Linked DNA regions of Homo sapiens: region 2 is linked to region 1. The links are contacts of gene promoters, found by promoter capture Hi-C in human tissues and cell types (Jung and others, 2019). All regions are on one chromosome and are shown on one strand. Each heading gives the region's core, a stretch centred on a gene start or on the middle of the fragment in contact. The rest is flanking DNA. Distances are from core to core; before and after follow the strand shown. Region 1 holds the start of WNT10A (Wnt family member 10A). Region 2 overlaps NHEJ1 (non-homologous end joining factor 1).

Region 1 (4,275 bases), core at 106-2,605:
GGGCTCCGGGGGGAGGCGGAGGTCCAGAATGTCATTGGGTGCTGACCTGCAGACATATGGGGTGGAGTGGGTACGTGTTTTGGGGGGACCAGGAGAGCCCCATCTAACAACACACACTCTGTCCCAACGGCCATAATCACTCCCTCTTCCAACCTCTGCTTCTGAAGGTTGGGCCCATCAGTACACTCCTACACATTCCTCTCTCCTTGACCTCCTCACAATCATCCTGCCCAGTGCAACTCACTCAGCTAGCTGCACACCCACACAGGTAAGCGTGCAAATGCACACACATCCACCATGCTTGTGGCCACAGTATTTCCTATGCACATCCCCAGGAATAGATGCCCATACACACAGGGTTCCCCACAAGCCCACTCCCACAGATATGTTTCAGTCACATTCACATAGACACACTTCTGCACACATTGTGGTGGACACACAAACCCAACCCCAGCACACTTACGCACATGCACACTTCATCAGACATAGTTACAGACACACACACAAAGACACTCCCATTTACACATGTGTTCATCTTAACATACATTGACCCATGAGCTCTCACATGCACACATGGGCACACATACAAACTACTGTTTACCAACACAGTTTGCTGGGATCCTGGGCTCGATTGAAAACACACACACACACACACACACACACACAGCTCTTGCAGCTGCAGTCTCTCACTGACCCCACCTGGGCTACCCCCTTCCAGCCTCCCAACCCCTGCCCCTACCTGGGGCTGAGCTGCAGGAAGGAGTGAGGCAGCTTGTGCTTACTCCTGAGGTGGGGGTGCATTCCCCCAACAGGGCAGGAACTCCAGACTGGCACTTGCTCCCCCCCCACACACACCTCCCCTCCTAGTTGCCATCATGCTCCTGGGCACTGCCTTGTCTCCCTGGACTGCCCATATCCTGTCACCAGTCCAACCCCCTCCTATGAGGGAGCTCACTGCCTTTGGTTGGGCACCAGCACTTTCCTATGACCCTGTCCCTCCCTTCTTCCAGGGTCCTCTACCCCAGCAAGAGCATCAGAGGCCCCTGCAGGCCGGGGTCCCAACTCTCTAGGAGGGCGGAGCATGAGGTGAGGGCTCACCTGGGCATGGCAGCAGCCAGCAGCAGTAGGAAGAACAGGAGCACCCAGAGCGCTGGCCGCGGCTGGGGCTGGGGTCGGAGCCGCAGCCAGGGGCGAGGGTGGGCGCTGCCCATGGCGCGCAGGCCCTGACGGGCTGGGAGTGGGGGGCTCACAGCCCAGTGGGACTGGAGAGCCAGGGGCGCCGGCGCATGATCGGCGGGGGGTCGGGGCGGCTGCGACACACAGCTCCGACTCGGGTCAGGGCTCCCGGAGCAGACGGCGCCCGCCTCCCCGCTCCATGGGGCAGCACCCCCGGGCACCGCCCTCGGGGGGGGCGGGGGGTGAAGAGCGGGCGAACCGGGCACCTCCTGGCACAGGGGTCCGGGGAATTTCCCGAGGCCCCCCCGCGACAACTCCCGGTGCCTCTCAAGGGTAAGGGGGGCCCGGAGGTGCAGCGGGCTGGGGACGGGAGGCTGGGGTGCCGGGGAACCCTCCAGCGCAGCGCCGGGAGCCTGCGCTTCCGAGGGCGTGCGAGGCTGGCTGGCGGGGGCGGCGCTGTCTGTGTCGGGCCCCACTGCCTGTAGAGTAAGTGACTGTCCCGGCTCGGGGAGCTCTGCCGCCTTCCCTTTCCTCCCCCCACCCCCCCGCCATTTAGTGTCTCAGGGCTCTACCCCACGTGACGTCACGCGGCGGGGCGTGGAGGCGTGTACGAGTCCCGAGGCCACTGCGTCCGCTGGGGACTGGGGGTGGGAGCGTCCCTGCTGAGGGCAACAGAGGGAAAGGTGTTGGGGTCTGTGCGCGCGTGCACAGGAAGATGCCTGTGTGTGGAGCGCGCTGGGTTGTGTGGGGGATATGTGTTACCGCGAGGTGTGTGTGCCTGGCAGAGACGCAGCTGCTGGGGAGCGCCCCCATCCCACCCCAACACACACACCTGCAGGGGCTGGAGGGGAGGGGCTGGCCTCTGTGTTTCGCCTCCTCCGCCAGAGGAGGGACTTCCCCCAGGCCTGCCTGGTGTGAGGCAGGTGTGGGCTCCTGCAGAGGAGTTTGGCAGCCTCTGGTTTCTTCTCCCCTTTGCTGTGTGACCTTAAACAGGTGCCTCCTGCTCCTGCTCACGGAGACCTCCTCTGCCCCTTTGCGGAATGCGGCTCATGGGGACCACCTTGTCTCCTCAGTGAGCCCGGGGAGGCAGCAGTGTCAGGCCCCCAGAAAATGCTTGCGTAGGAGCGCCCGGGGTGGCACGTCCTGGGAGGAGGCGTTAGAGAGACTTTTAACCCTAGAAGTGGCCGTTGAGATAGTTTATTTAGCTCCCCTTTATTTCACAAGAAAATATCGAGGCTCAAAGAGGTCACACAGCAAATTAGCGGAAGAGCGAGAACCGAACGCAGCTCTCCTGACTCCCAGCGCAGCAGCTGCCTCCCCAACACTGAGTGTTGCCTGCCTGTGCCCGCAGATACTCTCAGTCTTGTCCTGGCCCTCCCTGGCCCCACCTGCACATGGTCCTCTAGGAGGTCCCTAATACCAGCCTCCTGGCTCAGGTCTACTTCTCGCTGAGATCTTCCTGTCCCTCCACCCCAACTGAACACTGGGCCCCTCCTCGATATAGTGCAAGTGTGCTGGGCCCAAGCAAGGGCCTGAGAGCCAGAGGGCAGGGGAAAGGCAGCTCTGCCGTCTGTTTCTGGTGCTAGCCTGGGCCCTGATAGTGGATCGTGCTCCTGCCCTGTGCCCTCGGCATCCTCCTCTGTAAAATGGGCACAAGCCTTTACACAAACATGCCCCTCTCTCTGAAGAGAGCCCCTGCTGGCTTAGGAACAAAACTATGGGAGCCTCTGGGCTCAGAGACAAAAAAGGCCCATTCCTGGAATTGCCCATCCCTGGGGAACTGAAGGAGGGGGTGGGGCCCTCCTTGTCCCCAGACTGTCAGGTGGTGGGGGCGGCCTGAGCAACAGCAGGCTGACGGCATACTCCCCCCTCCTTTCCCCCTCATCTCTGCCGGCAGCCACCGCAGCTGTCAGGAATTAAGGGCTTGAGGCTGCTGGGGGTGGGGGTGGGGCAGTGGGGGGGGAGCAGTCTGGCTGGACTGCAGGAAAACAGCCAGGGGCAGCAAGCAGACTGCGTCAGCTAGAGCCTTATTTGACCCCAACTGCCCCCTGCCCTCCCCACTCTCCCTACCATGCTGCAGAAACGGGGACAGCTTGGGACTAGCATTTGGGAAGGGTAAGCGGTAAGGGTAAGGGTGGGACCAGACTCAAGACAGGAGACAGGCACCAGCCCAGGATGAGAGAGGACACCAGCAAGCTGGAGAGTCATATTCTTATTGGCTGTTGGGGAAACTGAGGCCCAGAAAGAATTAGGAACGTGACACAGGGAAGGGACTCATAATCAGCTTACAGATGTCCTTATTCCCCATCACGCGCTCACACTAGCATTTCCCACGCTTGATGCAGCACAAGTGTCCCCTGGGGTGGGCCATTGTGGGAATGCGGATTCCAGGCCCCATGAAGTTGAATCAGCCTTTCCAGGGAAAGGCCTGGGTGTCTGTCTTTCTAGCTAGCATCCCCAGTGATTCTGGTGGGGACTCCTTTTGGGAAACGCTGCTGACCTGGTTGAGGAGCTGATTTAGTTTCCTTTGGCATCTCTCTGATGAGGGGGTCTCTTTTCTTCCCCACCTCCACTGTCTGTGAAATACAGAGGTGCAAAGGAGACCGAGAAAACCCTTTCTTAAAAAAAAACAAAAAAGCCTCCGGAGGCAAATAGTGATACTGAGGCTTGCACTCAGGCGTGGCTCTGCCCTGGTGTCAGGAGGGTCTAGGAGTGCCCAAGTCAGAGCACTTCTCAGTGAAGGGAGGGGAGAGTCTGTGTTGGTCCAGAGCCTTGGCATGTATGTAGGTGAGGCCCAGAGACTGTCTGCCCCTGGGGTCCCAGCCCCAAATGACCCACACCATGGCCAAGCCCCTATCAGCACCCCCTAGTCCCCACCCTGGCCCTGCCCTGGGCCCTGGCCCTCAGCCCAGCCCCAGCCCCCGCAGCCGCCGCCTAAGACCACAATTACAGGGGCCACTGGGGGGCGGGGGAGCACTGGGGATGAAAGGCAGCTTGGAGAATGGTTCCAGCTGTGGCAGCTCTGGAGAAGGTCACAGGGAGGAAGGGCCGGGGAAGCATGGGGGTGAGAACAGGTGGGACCCTCACAGCCCCAGCCTA
Region 2 (4,275 bases), core at 512-3,011, 230 kb before region 1:
GTGAACTTCTCCCTAAGAATATTTTGCTTTGGAAGATGCTTGTTTTCAGCCCCTGCCCCACTTTCCTAGCCTAGAAACTTCCCTGTCTAAGGCATTGGTTTTGTTTGGATGAGAATATTGTGGGAAGAGGATCCTGAAGCGTGATAGACTGAGTTCTGTTTCAGGCTTCTCCTGTGAGCGTTGTTGCTGAGAATGAGAGGGACGAACTTTTTTTGGAGTATTAAATGGGTGATGGTCATCATTATGATAAATCTCCCTTTTCTAGAAAGGTATTCCAAGTATGGAATACCTTGGAAATGATAGCAGTTCTGGCTGTAGCTTAATAGGTTTGCCAAGGATCTTAGGCTCATACAGGTAAGGCCAGCTAACTCCACTTCTCTATAGTTTATAGAAGGTGACACGAAGACTTATGGAGGGGGAGAAAAATGAGAGTGGACTGAGGTAAGGGCTCTTTTCTATGTCAGGACAAAAGCCTTGGAGGCTCTGAGTGGCTAAACTTGGAGGCTTATCACTTATCTGGAGCCTCTGAAGAAGGACAAAGCCAGAGAAAGCAGGTTATAGAGATAAATAATGATTACATTTTAAGATAAGTTCTTGATGGTAAAAATGTCAGATTACAAAAAATACATATATATATTGAATCAGAATTCAAGGAAGCTGGTCCCTACCTGGAGGATAGTTTCTCCATTTTCCTCCCCTTTTCTATTCCTGTCCATCTCTCCCTCCTCAATTTGTTTTGAGTTTGTGCTTCAGCACGTATTTGGTGCACCAAATGCAAATCATCTTGCCCTGTGACCACAGAGACTGCAGCGTTGGAAATTCTTCCTGAATTGCTGACCTGGTTCTGCTGTACATTGTTTATATTTTATGACACACGTTTAACAATATAAACTGTAATATATTAAGGTAAAACATTGAACAAGTGAAGCAGAGTCGAGAGATGCTGGTGACACATGTTTGGTTAGCACTGAGGAGGTAAAGTACTTTGACTTAGTCGTTGCCTTTTTCATATGCCGTGATAGTTGCCTGCCTACCCCATGATTTTAAGATGTATAGCATAAACAATATACCACATAAAGGCATAAGAGATTTCTATAAATCTGGGCAACTAATTTCAGCAAAATCTTTTCATGTGTTTTTACTGGAAATACTTTCAGAATTGTGATTCTTGGTGGCACAGTGCGTGTATGTGTGTGTGCATGTTTCATGTCCTATCATATGGAGATGGATCTGGTCTTTTTCTGCTTACTCTTATTCATTGTGAAAGTCATGAGTGTAAAGGAGGGCGTAAAAGAGGGCGAAGTTTCAGGGGTTTGGAACAGAACTAAGTTGCCCAGCATCTGTGATGTTTGTTCCTGAAAAACTTCAGGTTGCTAGAGATCAGCTTTCAGGGAAGTAGTATTGATGAGTCCTTTCTCCTCCTTCATATCTGGACCTTTTGCAACCTGAGTATGACTTTTGGGGCCTGTTTCAGCAGGTTGGCCTCCCTGTTATCCTGCAACAAGAGAAGGGTCTAGGTGTGTGCCCCTAGGAGACTTTTACAAGTTCAAGGCAAGGTCAAGCTCTCCTTTCTAGCCCTTGACTTTGTTCCTGGAGAGACTGCAGTTTCTTGGCCAGTTTGGAGTGTAAAAGGCACAGTTAGCTGGAATGGAATTAATTATAATGATGATTTATATATGCGTGATATTTATGGTTGGTCCTAGTCTTTGTGAATTAGGACAATATTTTTGTATTATTATCCCTATTTTATAGATGAGGAAACTGGGGTTCCTTGAGCTTCCCAAGGTAACATAGCAAGTAAGCAACAGAGCCAAAACTCAAACCAGGTCAGTTTAAATTGTTCCATTAGGTTACTTAAATTGGTCACCTGGTCTTCTACCTTATGACTCTTGCTTTGACCAAGGGCCAGGGTTCAAAAGGATAAGCTCCCCAGTGCTTTCACCATTTAGTTACAATCTCTGTTGTATTTCTCATTCTTTTTAGCAATTTTTCCTTGCCGAAGCTTTCCTTTTCCACTCTATTCCTATTTCTCTGACCCCCACTTTCAGAGACTGCCTTATTTGCTTTCCTAGAAATTCCCCTTTTAAGGCTTTTGGGAACTTTGACCTACCAGTAGTAACTACATTTAAGAGAGTGTTTAAAATGTCTCCTGCCCCTCTCATTCATCCCCCCACCCCTAAAGCATGGCCTCGCCCCATCCTGCCATGATGCTGGCCAAGCGCGTGGGGCAGCTGTGGTCAGTCCCATTTATAAAGCTGGTAAATATGGGACCGGTTTCTGTCCCCTCCAAAGGTCAATATTTGTACAGAGTTTAATTTTAACTTAACAAGCAGTTGTTTTCTGCAGCTGCCCTGGTGTGTTGTGTTGTGTGTGCTTTCCTTTCCCCTTCTTTCCCACTGACTGTATGTATCTCTCTGTGTGTGTGTGTGTGTGTGTGTGTGTGTGTGTGTCTGTATTCACACTGTAGACTTAATTCTGGTCTTCAGAACCTGCAGCCCACTGGCTTGGCCACACTGTCTCATGAAAGACATTTGGGGCTAAAGGGATCTAGATAAGGGGAGTGGGCCAAGCGTGTGGGATAACTAGATTTTTTCTAGGGGTCAGGGGACAGAGAAGACTGTTTATTAGTATTCTGTAATGCTAATGTCATCACCATATCTTTCCCTTGTAGGAGAGTTTCTAGAATGCAGGATTTGAGAGCTGGTCCCCTCTTTTAAAAGCTGTACCATCCCCCTACTTTGCTTTTTAAGGAGTGTTAACCCCTTATCCAAGAAACCTGGGTTCTAATTTTGTCAGCTGCCTTTTGAGTAAATGAGGAGAATGGGTGAGATAAATCTGGCTTCCACCTTTTAGTAGTCTATGCTTTTATGAATAATAGAGCATTGGTCTGGGTATCACGAGTAAATTCTATTCCAGTTCTAAAATCATCTTTAAAATGATTTTCCCCCCTCTGGTCCTTAGTTAAGGAATATGACCTTTGTTCCTTACAAGGATTTTGTGAGGATGGGTGATGTTTTATTTAAAGGAACTTTGAGCTGTTTCAGTAAAGAGAAATACTTTAAAACTAAGCTCATCTTATCTACCCATGTCCCTTTTCACCAAGCTATTTAAGTTCTTTCTGCTTGCGAGCATGTTCCTGGCTTGGACAGTTCAGTCCAACATGCAGTCAGCCCAGACTCCTCAGAGCCAAAGGATCTGAAATGGAGGAGGAGCGCTGTGATGAACAGTAGCATATGGACTCCATCCACGGTGGCCGCCTCCTTCCTGTTTCTTGAACATCTGAGACCGGTGCCCCACCTCAGGACCTTCTCACTTGCCGTTCCCTCTGCTAAGAATGGTCCTTCCCAGATATCTGCATGATTCATTCCTTCACTTCCTTCAGGTCTTTTTTCAAGTGATACCTTCTAATTGAGGACTTCCCGGCCACCCCATCTAAAATTTCAGCCCCACCTCCACCCCCACCCCACCAGCACTTTCTGTCTCTGTCTCTGCTGTACTTTTCTCCATAGCACTTACCATAACCCAATATACCACACATTTCTACTTTTTTTTTTTTTTGGCAGCATCTCACTCTGTTGCCCAGACTGGAGTGCAATGGTGCAAACACAGCTCACTGCAGCCTCAACCTCCTGGGGTTCAAGCGATCCTCTCACCTTAGCCTCCCGAGTAGTTGGGACTACAGGTGCACCCTACCACACCTGGCTAATTTATATATATATATTTTTTGTAGAGACGGGATTTTTCCATGTTACACAGGCTGGTTTTGAACTCCTGGGCTCAAGCAGTCCTCTTGCCTTGGCATCCCAAAGTGCTGGGATTACAGGGTGCAGTGGGCACCCCTTAGATTCTGCTTTTTAATTACGTTGATTTTACCCCATGTGAAGACATGGATTCTCAATGAGGGCAGGGATTTTTGTCTGTGTGTTCATTGCTGTCTCTCCAGTGTCAATAGAACAATGCTTGGCACATGTAAGCTCTCAAAATGTATTTGTTGAATACATGGAAGGAAGGAAGGGAGGGAAGGAAAAGTAGGCTCTTTAAGCTCATGATTCTTCATAGGGGGTACATACCCAATCGGGGAGATGGTTAGAATTATTTGGAAGCCTTTTCAAACTATTCATACCCTTACCAAAAAATTTTTGATATGCACATATCAAAAAACTATCCACCCCAAGATAGTTAAGGATTATTGCATAATATACTGTCGTTACTGATGAAAATCTGTGGTATGCCTTTTATGTGTTAGGTGGAAAAAGAGAACCACTATCTTAGGCA

Evidence for each region. Contacts are between HindIII fragments. The study calls those that stand out against the background at their distance.
Region 2: a fragment that was not itself captured here is called in contact with the fragment with the promoter of WNT10A in region 1 in 1 of the 25 tissues and cell types used here (H1 embryonic stem cells).

The regions. Positions count from the first base shown.
Region 1 is chr2:218,877,932-218,882,206 of GRCh38, reverse strand. It overlaps WNT10A (Wnt family member 10A), which reads right to left and starts at 1,355. Exons shown (of 4, transcript NM_025216.3): 1 at 1,099-1,355; 2 at 1-46. The coding sequence starts at 1,211. RefSeq lists silencers at 1,280-1,419, 1,440-1,649, 1,870-1,929. The HindIII fragment of the contact is 13,021 bases long and covers 1-4,275 here.
Region 2 is chr2:219,109,804-219,114,078 of GRCh38, reverse strand. All of the region lies in intron 5 of NHEJ1 (non-homologous end joining factor 1), which reads left to right. Among named protein-coding and RNA genes, the nearest start is that of NHEJ1, 49 kb to the left of the region's middle. The HindIII fragment of the contact is 8,685 bases long and covers 1-4,275 here.